4 separate regions of the Homo sapiens genome follow, and regions 1, 2 and 3 are each linked to region 4. Evidence: promoter capture Hi-C in 16 types of primary human blood cells and fetal thymus (Javierre and others, 2016). All regions are on one chromosome and are shown on one strand. The core of a region is centred on a gene start or on the middle of the fragment in contact, and the rest is flanking DNA. Distances in the headings are between cores, read along the strand shown. Region 1 has its middle 320 kb from the start of C9orf72. Region 2 has its middle 28 kb from the start of EQTN. Region 3 overlaps IFT74 (intraflagellar transport 74). Region 4 holds the start of MOB3B (MOB kinase activator 3B).

Region 1 (3,477 bases), core at 853-3,352, 360 kb after region 4:
TCGGATGGATATTTTCAATTTTTATTTTTTATCACAACTCAGTGCAAAACACATCTTACAATATATAGAACGCGTGCACACACACAGATATGTCATGAACTCTCCTCTCCTCTCTCCTGTCCTCTATTTTATCGTGAGGCAAATTGCATACCATCTTCTTCAAGAGTCCGATAGTAATTCTTGATCCTTTACTGTTGCATATAAATTTCATAATAGGCTTGTCAACTTCCACGAAGGGCCCTGTCAGCATTTTGATTAGATTCTAGTTAAGTCTATAGTTTGATTAGTAGGACATTGATAAAAAACAAGACAAGGGTTTCTGGTCAAGAATATGATATATCTTCCCATATGTTTTTATATTCGAGTTTGAGTGACAGAGTTATGATCTTTTGTAAAGTCTACTCTTAAATTATCCCTTATTTTTTAAAAATTGTTTTCTCTGTTTTTGGCACAAATTGATATTTATATGTGCTTGATATTTAAATGTATCTTGTTTACAGGAACCACAAGAAAATTTTAATCATTTTCTTTCTTAAAATGTCAAATCCTGGCTGCATTGGTATCACTCTGATGCTCTGAAATTTATTCAACTTTTCTAGTTTTTCAGGCTACAAGAGGTAGTCTGATGCAAAATGAAATGACTCAGTCAAAATAGAATATATTTTTACATATATATTCATAATGTTTTTGTCTGGTATTGGTATAAAGGTTATAGTAGACTCTTAAAATTATTGAGAACACTTCCTCTTTTCTCTTCGTTAACAAATTTTGCCTTAGATTCGCTAGATGTTTCTGAATGTTTGGTAGAACTTCTTTGTAAAACTATGGTGGCCTTGTTTATTTTCATGAAACATTTTTTTATTTTAAAATAGTGTAGCAGTTATAGTATCAAATATTATATTTCTTTTGAGTCAGCTTTGGAATTTATACTTTTCTAGGAATTCCTTATGTTTCGTTTTTCACATGTGTTGGCATCAAATTACTCATAGTATTTTATTTTCTTTTAAATCTCTATGTAATCTCCAGTTCCCTCCCTTTTAATCCATACTAACATAATTTCCATCTTCTCTTTTTCAATTTCCTTCAGAAATTTGTCTATTATTTTTTTCCTCAAATAATCAGTTGATGACTTTGTTGATCATCTTAATTCTTTGGACTTTCATTAGTTTTCATTGTTGGCATTAATTTTTACTTTTCTTATTTTCTAGCATGAGCGTTTAAAGCTTTGCTGCATTTCGAGGCTGTCGATGGCTTGCCACAGCCCAACTACGTGATCTTCTTACCTGAATCTTACCTTCCTCTTCCAACAGACTGCCAGGCAGGCTGTTCAGCAAAAGCATGATTGAGTGTGTTCCTTAAAGATAGATGCTGACACAATCTTCTCCTTTTTCACCTTTCATCTTCCTCTCATCTCCTAGTTTTCATTTTAAGCTAAGAAATATTTCTCTATTACTTATAAGCTAGGTATATTAAATATACATGTTAGCATTGTAATACAATGCCAAAGTTCTTCTAAAAATAATTGATGTATCTTTCAACATCAAATGCACATTTATATTAAAAAGAATAACATAGCAACTGAAGTTTCCGGTTTACCTTGGCCTCAGAAGAAGTGTATGTACATATAAAAGAGTCTCAAAAGTCTGGAGCTATGATGTGCTTTTGAAAATTTGCCATGTCCCAAGCACTGTAGTTTGAATTGGCTGATGGTGAGATAGCTATTTTTAAGGCTAGAGTTGTTCAAATCTGAATGTCGACACCAAGGGGAAAACAAGAGAGCCTGGCTCTGTGTATTATTTATGAGGAATTACCTTGAAACTTATCTTCAGGTCCTTTGTGGTAATAACTTCTCTTAATAATCAGATATAGTTTCAGAGCAGGCTGTTTCTCATTCATTTAAAATGGTTTAAAATTCTGTATCAGTTTGATTAAAGAAAATAATTTACTGCCCAGGTCGAACACTGAGTAAATTGAGATTGAATTTCTGTTTCTTAAAAATGTATTTTTTCACTTTGTGTGCAAAAGATAAGTTTTCAGACTAAATGCTGAAAAAGTCTGCGCTGACCAGTCTGTGTGCCAAGTTTAGATGGCCTCAATTAAGTTTCTGGCCCTATAGCACCCGCTGCTCCTCTGCTTCCCAGGATCCTCCATGCCCTTGCTGAGGGGTCATTTGTCTGCTGCTCTCACTTTGTTTAGGGGCCTGGCCAGGATCTTCCTCAGAACGATTTCCTCCTCCCCACCCTTTCCTCAGTCAGCTCAGGGAGTTGGGAGTTGGTTAGGCCTTGGGGACTCAGGGCCTGAACTAAATGCCTTATCCAGAATGGCTAAAGTTTCTCTAGGTACCAAGACAACTTAAATGTATTTATCTATAGATAAAGCTATACTTAATTTGGAAATGTTAGCACCTTATTTGTTAGAGGATTGATGATGTGGTCATCTTCTCATTTAGATAATTTCTATTATTAAATTATATTACTATAATAAAAAACATGTTTGTGGATATCCTGACAGGAAAATCAACAGATGCTACTTAACTCTTGGTTCATCTCAGCAGTCAGAAAGAGTGGGGATATTTACTCCGTGTATCCACTTTTCCTTTTTGATTTATAATCCAGGGGCAGGCACTGGAAAGGCCCTGAAGAAATAAAGAGTAATTCTGCTTTACCAGATATGCGGCTATAGTGTGGGAAGAGGTTAAATTTTGGTCAGATGTCTGGAAATAATGGGGCTGAAGATCCTCTGTGGCCTGACTGAGTTGATTCTGGATTTGTTGAATGTGCTTATATCCCCAGGAAGCCAGCAAATCCTGTAAAGTCCTTGATGGGCATCTAGCTAAAACAGCACTGTAAGTTAACTCTGACATTTGCTGCTCAGTTCAATAAGAGTAGGGAATTCTCATGCAGTTTTTGACAGGTATAGATAGATTATTACAACCACTTATTCAAGGCTTGAGAACACAATAGCATTAGGAAAAGTGAGACCCAAGCTTTAAGAGTTTTCAGGATCTAATGGATTTATGACCTGGAAGCAGAATAATAAACATAACATCTACCTTAATATTGGAATCCTTTTCTGGGAAAGAAATGGTGATGGCCTGGGTGTAGCTGTCCCTGTGAAGGAGGCCATAGGGATAACCTGGAATGCACAATCAATCTCATGGTGGAGGTTGGAAGAGGAGGAGGAGGTAGAGGAAATAGTGCTATCATTTTCTTCCTAGGTTATCTACATGTACCTGTATGAAAGACCAGCAGATGTCCTGGTCTCTGCCTTTTGAGCTGCTCTATTCCAAAGATACCTAAAGCCATTCAAAACTTGGGCCTGAGAAACTTATTAAAGCCATTTATTTATCTTTGGCCATTTCCTATATTTGATTTACTACATGTCATCATCAAAGGAGTAAATAATATAATTAAAGACTATATTGTAATCAAGTATTTTCCCAGTCCTCCTTTTTTTTTTTTTAAAAAAAAGGTAGAA
Region 2 (3,281 bases), core at 629-3,128, 260 kb before region 4:
TTTAGTATAAGTTCTATAGAAAAGAATATCTATCGTATAGATTCTACATAATAGAATATCGTAGCCATTATAAAAAGCATGATATAGATCCAGATGTTAACAGATTCTAGATTAACTGACAAGGCCTCTGATACCTTATTCAGTGAAAATAGCTAGACATACTGTATATATAAAATTATCATATTCACTAAAAATTTTAAAACTATATACATCTCTGTAGTAATACATAGAAAGGTCTAAATAAGAAATATGAAAGAGTTGTCTTGGCTGCTTTTTACTCTTTATGTTTTTCTATATTATTTGAATTCATGCCATACATTCTTGATGGAACTGATACTGCCCACAAGGGAGCAAAATTGACTCTTGAGGGATGAAGAAAATCTTAAATACTATGATGGTATATGGTTCTTCAAAATTCAACCTTACCTAATAAAATCTTATCCCTTGGCACTTATTTTTTTTTATTATTAGTATACTTTAAGTTTTAGGGTACATGTGCACAATGTGCAGGTTAGTTACATATGTATACACGTGCCATGCTGGTGTGCTGCACCCATTAACTCGTCATTTAGCATTAGGTGTATCTCCTAAAGCGGCACTTAATTTTATGAAGGGGGAAGAGGGAGGTGATAGAAAAAATAATGTCTGCAAAGATTTCTTAGGGGGACGATAACGAAAACAAGGTTGAGAAATGCTATTCCGCATAGAAGTGAGTTACTTTCATAACCAGAAAACAAGTTTAAATATTTCAGTGATAACCTCTGACAATAAGGTTATAGTTATACATCCAATTTCAAATGCAGCTGATTTTCAACCACAAGTACCACCTACACATTCCACTAAAGAGACTATTTAAAAAATAAATTCCTTGGTATAAGCTAAAGATGGCCCTACTAATGAGAAAAAGTATTCAGGGTCAGGTACTAATTACAGGTTTTATCACTTGATTAATTGAAAAAAATAAATTACCTTGATCTCTTAGCTTCTTAAGATAATTTACTGCTATGTTCACATACATATTTCTCCTGCTACACCTTTCATATATTGCCTTTTTTTCTATTTTAGCCTAGGTCAAAAATTGAATAATTAAATATTAAGCCAAAAGCCTATGAACAGGAAATGTCATTTGCAATATAATGAATATGGCAAAATATTTATGTAACTTAATGAATGGGGGAAAACTGTGCCACCAATGAAAAGCAACTTATTTTCCATTTTGTGTTTGTTTTTTAAGAAGAAAAAAAAAAAATAGTCCGGGCATGGTGGCTCACGTCTGTAATCCTAGCACTTTGGGAGGCCGAGGTGGGTGGACCACTTGAGGCCAGGAGTTTGAGACTAGCCTGGCCAACATGGTGAAAACACATCTCTACTAAAAATACAAAAATTAGCCCGGCGTGGTGGCAGGTGCCTGTAATCCCAGCTACTCCGCAGGCTGAGGCAGGAGAATCGCCTGAACCTGGGACGTGGAGGTTGCATTGAGTCGAGATCACACCACTGCACTCCAGCCTGGAGGATAGAGAGAGATTCTGTCTCAAAAAAAGAAGAAAAAAAACAGTTCTATGACTCCAACCCAAGAACCAGATACTCTTGCTTCATAGACAAAAGGCTACTGTATATTGGTATACGGTATATAGTGCAATACCTATACAAAGCTGAGAATATACATCAATTCATTTGATTCTCACAGCCAGCCCCAAATATACCAGAGGCATATATTACTATTTCCATTTAAAAGAAACTAAGGCTCAAAGTGGTTAATTTGCTTAGGATTACACAGCAAATGGAGGACATGATCTTCATTTTTTCTTCTATAAAATTTACCTTCCTGAAACCATTACATAATTATTTTTATACCAAGGGTCATTAAGTCAGTAAAAGGAAAAGGAATGAAATATGAAAGAAACAAGCAAATGGAGTGTTATGATAATAAATATTAAATATATTATTAATTTATATACCTAGTATATGCAGGTTTGTTTTAAGCATATTAAATGTTTTCTCATTTAATCTTCATTATGACTGTATGAGAATGGGTGTCATCACTGATTTATATGATGAAACTAGGCTTGAACAAAGGAAACATCTTGCTTATTGTTACAGAGCTGGTAATTGAACCTAGGTGTACCCAAATGCCACCAAGACTCTTCTCATTACACTAAATCATCAGAGATAAAGCCATGGGAGGTTAGAGGGAGTAAGGAAGAAAAGACACATGATGAAAAAAGACAAAGCTGGAAGAAAATGAACAACACATAAGAGGCTCATATTGTCCCTTTTTATTTTTGCCATTATTCTTTAACCTACATAGAATCCTAGAGGACACAGACTTCTGGAATAGTAGAGCGAGAACCTTCATGAACTTACTGTCCCACAAAAGCAATAAAAATATTGGCAAAACAACTAAAAATCAACCATTTCAAAATTCTAATAACTAAAGCCACAGAACAAACTGAAAATTGTCTAAGAGAAACTACTGAACCTTGGTAACACAGTGGGTTCTGTGAAATTCCTACCTCCCTTCCCTTCCCAGCTTAGTGGCGCCACGGTTGTGAAAGGTTGGCCCTGAGAGCCAACAGAGTAGACATATCTTTTTTAGAACCATACTAAAAGCATTATTGCTAGAGCACTATCAATATTCAAACAAAAAACCAGTTCCCTGAAAAATCTCTATTCCTAGGGTGTTGTGGGTATTTGATTTGACTCAGAGTTCAGAGTATGGAGGGAAAAAACCCTATCTCCAGGGTGCAACTGAAACAATAGCAATATCCTGGCAATATCACAGCTAGCTAGGGCTATGGTTTTAGTCTGGCAAACAATAGTTTGGCTAGGAATTTAAAAGAAACTCTTGGAGAACTAGATGACCCTAGAGATTTGTAAAGGCTCTGACATAATCCTGGGTTTAACAAGTGTTCCATTTAAGACCTGGGAAAAGAGAAAATCCTATTCATTCACCAGTGGCCAACCTTGAGGCCCTGCACAAGCAGGAAGTGAAAGCTAAGGCTGTCTTATAAACCAAAAAATAAAAGAGGAGGGAACACTTTCCAATTTATTCTATGAGGTCAATATAACCCTGAGACCAAAAAAGAGACAGAATCATTACTGCAAAGAAAACTACAATCTCCATCCATTATTGAGTGAACAAAATGGATAACAAAAGTATGGTTATACATACCGTAAAGTGTTATTCAGTTGTAAAAATAAATAAAATTTGAATACATGCTACAACATGAATAAACCTTTAAAACATTATGCTAAATGAAAGAAGTCAGACATACAAGGAC
Region 3 (3,399 bases), core at 617-3,116, 500 kb before region 4:
GCTGAGGCAGGAGAATGGTGTGAACCCAGGAGGCGGAACTTGCAGTGAGCCAAGATCGCGCCTCTATGCTCCAGCCTGGGTGACAGAGCGAGACTCCGTCTTAAAAAAAAAAAAGAAATTCTTTTATTCTTACTACAGATTAATACTTGAGAGTTTATATCTTATATTGAAGTCCTTCAGAGTAAATAGTTTCTTCGACCACTTAGCTGAAATCAGGCCCTTAACTTTACTCATTTTTTTTTTTTTTTTTAATGAGATAGGGTCTTTCTGTCACCCAGGCTGGAGTACAGTGGTGTGACAACATAGCTCACTGCAGCCTCAAACTCCTGGGCTCAAGTGATCCTCTTGCCTTAGCTAAATAAAATAATAAATAAAATAAAATAAAATAAAATAAAATAAAATAAAATAAAATAAAATAAATAAAATAAAATGTAAAATAAAATAAAATAAAATGTAAAATAAACTCCTGAGTAGCTAGGACTACAGGTGCACACCACCATGCCCAGCTAATTGTTGAAAACTTTTTTTGTAGGGACAGGGTTTTGCTCTGTTGCCCAGGCTGATCTCAACGTGCTTGGCTCTAGCAGTCTTTCTGCCTTGGCCTCCTAAAGTGTGGGGATTACAGGTGTGAGCCACTGTGCCTGGTGTTTTACTCTTTACTAGTGTATTCCCTTACATTGAATAAATTCTATAAAGAACAGCATTACTATTATAAGACATGTCAAAGCCTTACACAAATCACAAAAAAAGTGATCAGTTTTCTATGCAAAAATACTGAGCCTTTTGAAATCAGGGTAGTTCTCAGCTTCACCCAATGCTGGCTTAGATTTCAACTTTCTCAAGTCTGCTAGGTCAGTTACCAGTTCTCCATCTCCTTTCAGCTTCCAAAATGTTATTGCTGTTGTCTCCTATTTCTATATGCTGGGGGTTTCTACCTTTAAAAATTCTTTTTGCTATAGTTTTAGTGGGGTTTGCGGGAGGATCAAAATTAGATGTGCATGTTCAACGTGCCATTCATACCAGGAAATGACAATTATAAGCCTTAATTACCTAGAATTTCTGAAACTTTAAGCACCTTGAAGGTAGATCATTTTACTTATTTTTAAAAAGATTTTTTTTGTGTGTTTTGCCTTAAATGACCATCCTCATGCTTTCATTAACTGGGCAATTAGCCTCAGCTTATAGGAGGTCATCCTTTTCAGCTTAAAAAAAAAGTGTCCTGGCCGGGTGCAGTGGCTCACGCCTGTAATCCCAGCACTTTGGGAGGCTGAGGCAGGCGGATCATGAGGTCAGGAGTTCGAGACCAGCCTGACCAACATGGTGAAACCCCATCTCTATTAAAAATACAAAAATTAGCTAGGCATGGTGGTGTGTACCTGTAATCCCAGCTACTCAGGAGGCTGAAGTAGGAGAATCGCTTGAACTCGGGAGGCAGAGGTTGCAGTAAGCCAAGATCGCGCCACTGCACTCCAGCCTTGGGCGACAGAGCAAGACTCCATCTCAAGAAAAAAAAGAAAAAAAAAAGTCTTTTAAACTACTTAAAATTATTTTAAAGATTCAGATTAATTTTTTAAAATTGTAATTTTAAATATGAATCTGGCATGTATTTAACATGAAAAATGCAAGCAGAAAAGTATATAAAGTAAAATGTCATCTCCTTTCTCCTCATCCAAGTCTTCAGAGGTAATCATGGTTTACAGTTTAATGTTTAGGCTTTTAGACTTTTAATACATTGATAAACATATTTTTAAATGGAGTAATACTAATATACAGTTCTTCTGAGCTTGAGTCTTTTCATTTAACTGTATAATATACATTCTTCCCTATGAGGATGTATACTTCATTCTGAGAAATGGTATAGCATAGTGGTCAATGTTAGGGCTCTAAAGTCAGACTTAAGAATGGTGCCTGGTACAGGTGTGGTGGCTCATGCCTATAATCCTAGCACTTTGGGAGGCTGAGGGGGGTGGATTGCTTGAGCTCAGAAGTTCGAGACCAGCCTGGGCAACAGGGCGAAAACCTGTCTCTACAAAAAAATACAAAAATTAGCCAGGCATGGTGATGTGTGTTTGACTTGTAGTCCCAGCTATTTGCTAAGGTAGGATGATTACTTGAACCTCGGAAGTCGAGGCTGCAGTAAGCCGAAATCACTCCAACCAAAATCATGCCACTGCACTTCAGCCTGGATAACAAAGTGAGACCCTGTCTCAAAAAAAAAAAAAAAAAAAAATGGTGCCTGGTGCACATTAAGCGCTTCTGACAACCATTAGCTACCCCTATGATTGTTGTTACATAGGATTCATTGTATCCACATTGATATTTAGGCTGTTTCTAATTTTTTACTCCCAAGAACAGTGCTGCACTAGTACATTCATGTTTATAACTTGTCTGTTTATTTCCACAGAATAAATTTCTAGAAGTGAAATTTTGAATGGAATATTATTTATATTTACAACTGGTTTGCAAATTTCTTCCCAGAAAAGGTTGTATTATGTTATACAACCAAAAGCAGTATGTGAAGGTGGTTCCTTACCAATGCTAGCCATAAGTTTTTTAGTTTTTGTCAGTCAAGATAAGGTACACATCACTGACAGTTCCGAAGTTTTGACTGTTAGGCCTGAATTTGTAGTACCACCGCGATCCACAAGATGGGGCTAATTTTCTGAGCATCTATTAATATATACACAGTAGGATTGACAAATAGAGTTAACAAATGTTGTACGGTCACTGTCATATGTCTCTCCAGGAGGGATTATTGGGCATTATTACTCACCAAAAATGATTACTTTCCAGATTCAAGTATTTTCCCAAATGTGGAGTTGATTGTAAAACCAAATATATGATTATTAAAATACCATAATACATATAAATAACTAGTTGCTACAATGTGGTAAATATGTCATAATAGAAATATATGCAAAGTGCTATAGGAATATTGAATTACTGTCTTAAATTCTGAATGAATTCATTGTAACTTTCTGCATAATATATATGTGTCATTCAAAGTAGTAAAATAACAAAATATAATACTTTGGTTTGTCTATAGTATACTTTTTCATACTCAGAGTTCTAAAGCCTTGGTTAGGACCATTGTTTCTTTAATTATGGAGGGTAAAATAAACAATGTTAAAGACAGAATACTTTTATTTATTATTTATTTGTTTATTTATTTATGTATTTTGAGACGGAGTTTTTCTCTTGTGGCCCAGGCTGGAGTAAAATGGTGTGATCTTGACTTACCGCAACCTCCACCTCTCAGGTTCAAACAATTCTCCTACCTCAGCCTCCCAAGTAGCTGGGATTACAGGCATGCGCCACCACACCTGGCTAATTTTTTGTATTTTTAGTAGAGATGGGGTTTCTCCATGTTGGTCAGGCTGGTCTCAAACTCCTGACCTC
Region 4 (3,337 bases), core at 239-2,738:
TAGAGATTGAAATCCTCTGGAACCAACCACTGGACGCTCTGGATTGGGGCGGAACGCGCTTCCACTGTCTCGAAAGCAGCACCTTCTCGGATTTGAGCCTTTGCGGCGCGCCTGGGCTGAGATCTGAGAAATGCGCCCTGGGCCACAGGCAGCAGCGGAGGCGGGGAAGGAACAACTTTCCCTCCGCCCTCTAACCACAAGGGCGGGGTGGGGCGGCCTCGCTGGGGTCGGGCTCCTCCACTTTCCCAGCTGGGATCCCCTGCCGGAGCTGGCGTGGGGGCCGGGGAGGGGGACCAGAGGGGCTTCCTTCTCTCCCCAAGCCCCGCCAGATGTTGGAAAGGCAAACAATAGGGGAAACGCGGAGAAACAAAAGGCCATTCGCCACGATCTCAGTCGGCTGCGTAGAGAGATCTCTGTGGGGAGGGTTAGGGGAGAGGGTCAGGAAAGAGCGCGAGGGGGGGGATCCCGAGAGATTTAGAGTCTCTGGTACTTGCCAGGCACCAGGGGTCGGCGCTTTACCCTCCCAGCAGGGGTCTGAAGGTGGGAAGGGGCAATCAAAGAAAACTTGAAGGGTTTTCACCTTCTTCCCCAGTTCAGGGAAAGGGAGGGGCTGGGATTCCAGATGTTTGACAGTTGTTGGCCCCAAAGTTAAGCGCGATTTGTACGGCCTTTACACGCTCCCCACCTCCGTGAGGCATCGTCAGCCCCGGGGGCGACCTGGCTGACGGTGCGGACTTCCCCTACGCTGCCCCAAGCCGAGACTCCTCCCTCAGGATCAGGACGCCCAAGCGTTGTCCCCCAGCCCAGGCGCACTTTTGTAAAAGTTTGTCTTCCCGCCACCCACAGCCCAACACGCACCCTGCAGGCGTCCGCGGCTGGGGATGGGCTCGGAGTCTTGCACCCCGAAAGAAGGACGATCTTATTGATTTATATCTTTTCAAATCAAGGACAAATCAAGATCCCGGGGTGGAAAGTGGGCGACCCTTGTTCCTGCCGGGAAGTGCACACGAGGAGCCGGCCAGAAACCCAGGCGCCGGCAGGGGTCTGAAGAGGACTCCAGCCCCGGAAGCCCGTGGCCGGCGGGCAGAAGACCGGTCCGCCGCCTCCCGCACCTTCTTGCACCCGCGCCCAGGTGCGCCCCAAACCTCGCCGCCCGCCCGGGCGAGATCGGGAGCGAGCAGCCACCGGGCTGCGCCGCCTCCCCTAGCTTGGAGCGGGTTCTTACTCACCGTGGGGTTTTACCTCCAGCCCAGGGCCCGGTCGGCTCCCTTCGCCGGGTCAGCTGCAGCCAGCGCGAAAGAAAATGGTGAGCTCGGGGCAGGTGGGGCGTCGCTTGCCAATCCACGCAAGGGACTCTGCCGCCGGTGCGCGAGGTCCCGGCGAGCCAACCGGCGGACGGGCGAGCGCCTGGCTCCAGCTGCAGCCGCCGTCGCTCCGGAGCAGCCCCCTCATGCACCCAGCGCGCCGCGCAGCCGGCCGGGGCTCGACTGTCTCGCGGGGACGCCGAGCGGGGACCCCTGGCGGCCGCCTGCGGTATGGCAGCACCGTGGAGAGAAAAGTCGTCTTTGGGATCATCTTCCCTCCGGAAAGAGATGGGACATGACCAGTCTAAGGGGGCTTCCAGCCTTGCAGAAAAGACACTGGGCCAGGGCAGTGAAGAAGGTGTCAGATCAGAAAGGATGATCTCTGGGTCCACAACGGCCACTTCCAAGGCACCTAGAGAGGGGGAAACAGTTTGCCTTCCCCAGGATTTTCTGATTGTTGAAAAATACCATGAACTGCCTGACACAGAGCGGAGCATAAATCATTGGAAAATACTCAGATTCTAGTGGATTTACTAGAACACACTGGGAGTCATGGATGAACCTGGATTTTAAAGCTCAACCCACAGCCCGCCACTCTCTACTTGTGTGGTCTTGGTCTATCTACAACCTTAAAGCCTCAGTATTCTCCTCCGTAAATTGGCGGGGAGCAATATCACCCTTGCAGGGTGATGGTTACGGGTAAACTACATTTGAAACGTTTTTATAGTTTATAGTAACAGAAATCAAATATGAGCTTCCTGCCTTCTGGAGAAAAAGAATTGGATCTTTCACATTTTTCTATTACCCATATGATCACATCTTAATGCATATTGATTGAACTGTACCAAATGACGAAGTACTGCATTTTACCATTCTTACTACACACTTCAAAGAGGTGTGGAAATATATTAAGTAGAAATTAGGATATATAGAGAAAACATCCCTCCTCCAAAAGAGGTTTCTGCAACTAACTACGAAGTGAGAACTTCTAAAATCACTTACATCTTTTGCAATATCATCTCAGATATTGTAAGAAACATTTAATAAATAGTCATGACTTAATGATATCAACCCTGGATTAAATGACTCTAATTCTGTGTCACTTTTGTGTAATGTAAAGATACCGATTGTGAATATAAGACTCAAATATGGGAAAACTGCCAGATACAAAAATACAGCCGCTAAGCAATATTTCTGTTCATCACCGAGGAATCTCATTTCCAAAGTGCCCCAGTTTTTAAGAGGAAGAACACCAGAGTCAGACAGACCCATAGCAGCTGAGTCTAACCTTTCTGAAGCTCTGTTACCTCATCTTATAAAATGAGGATAATATAGGTAGCTGTCATTCAATGAAGGAATGCATACAACATGCTTAGCATAACACCTGTCACATGGTAAGTGCTCCAGGGTCACCACCTATCATTGTTTCCAGCATACAGTTATCACCCCACCGACATGTAGCCCCTCCCTCATGAGCTCAAGAGCCCCCAGCACGTGTTCTACTCACACACGCACAAGCTTCAGTGTCCCTTAAGATGTTATCTCCTGGAAAGTAGGAACAGAAAGAGAATATTTTCAGGTAGTTTGGAACAGAATGAATAACATTCACATTCCTTGCCCAAGTCAGTACAGATTAATTTCCATCATTTCCAACTCATACTTTATACATTTCCCATAAGAGGAAAATCATGCTGGTTTTCAGTAGCATATGAAAAAAAAAAAATTCCAAGAGGATTCTTTTGCCAAGCCACTTCATTACAGCTTCCCCTTAGAGGATACCAAAGAAGCACAGGGATATTGGAAAGGTGTCACCATAGCAACATTGTAATAGACAGATGACAATAGAGTAAAAGCGAAGAAAGCACATTTGCATAGTCATTGACAAACTTGGACCTACAGTCATATTGCTCTGGGCAGCAGTGCTCAGAGTCCAAGGGCTACTCAAAGTAAATTTGGTAAGAGGCTATTTCTATTCATTTTGGCTGAGTCTGACTACCCAGTTCATTGTGCTCATGTGTGTGCTAATTGTAATT

Evidence for each region. Contacts are between HindIII fragments. The CHiCAGO score rates a contact against its expected background, and 5 or more counts as called.
Region 1: a contact is called between a fragment that was not itself captured here and the fragment with the promoter of MOB3B in region 4, in 1 of 17 cell types (neutrophils). The highest score is 5.3, in neutrophils.
Region 2: a contact is called between a fragment that was not itself captured here and the fragment with the promoter of MOB3B in region 4, in 1 of 17 cell types (M2 macrophages). The highest score is 5.6, in M2 macrophages.
Region 3: a fragment that was not itself captured here is called in contact with the fragment with the promoter of MOB3B in region 4 in 4 of 17 cell types (M0 macrophages, M1 macrophages, naive B cells and 1 more); the score reaches 6.4 in M0 macrophages.

Annotation. Positions count from the first base shown.
Region 1 is chr9:27,890,510-27,893,986 of GRCh38, forward strand. No RefSeq gene overlaps it. Among named protein-coding and RNA genes, the nearest start is that of C9orf72, 320 kb to the left of the region's middle. The HindIII fragment of the contact is 1,763 bases long and covers 1,222-2,984 here.
Region 2 is chr9:27,267,452-27,270,732 of GRCh38, forward strand. It overlaps the pseudogene REXO6P. Among named protein-coding and RNA genes, the nearest start is that of EQTN, 28 kb to the right of the region's middle. The HindIII fragment of the contact is 4,471 bases long and covers 1-3,281 here.
Region 3 is chr9:27,031,365-27,034,763 of GRCh38, forward strand. The region is part of intron 13 of IFT74 (intraflagellar transport 74); the gene reads left to right. Among named protein-coding and RNA genes, the nearest start is that of LRRC19, 27 kb to the left of the region's middle. The HindIII fragment of the contact is 6,282 bases long and covers 1-3,399 here.
Region 4 is chr9:27,528,326-27,531,662 of GRCh38, forward strand. It overlaps MOB3B (MOB kinase activator 3B), which reads right to left and starts at 1,489. Exons shown (of 4, transcript NM_024761.5): 1 at 1,230-1,489. LOC124902107 (dapper homolog 3-like) reads left to right here and starts at 131. Exons shown (of 2, transcript XM_047424279.1): 1 at 131-401; 2 at 695-2,375. The coding sequence starts at 131. The coding sequence ends at 1,683. RefSeq lists silencers at 217-266, 1,237-1,536. The HindIII fragment of the contact is 3,596 bases long and covers 1-2,820 here.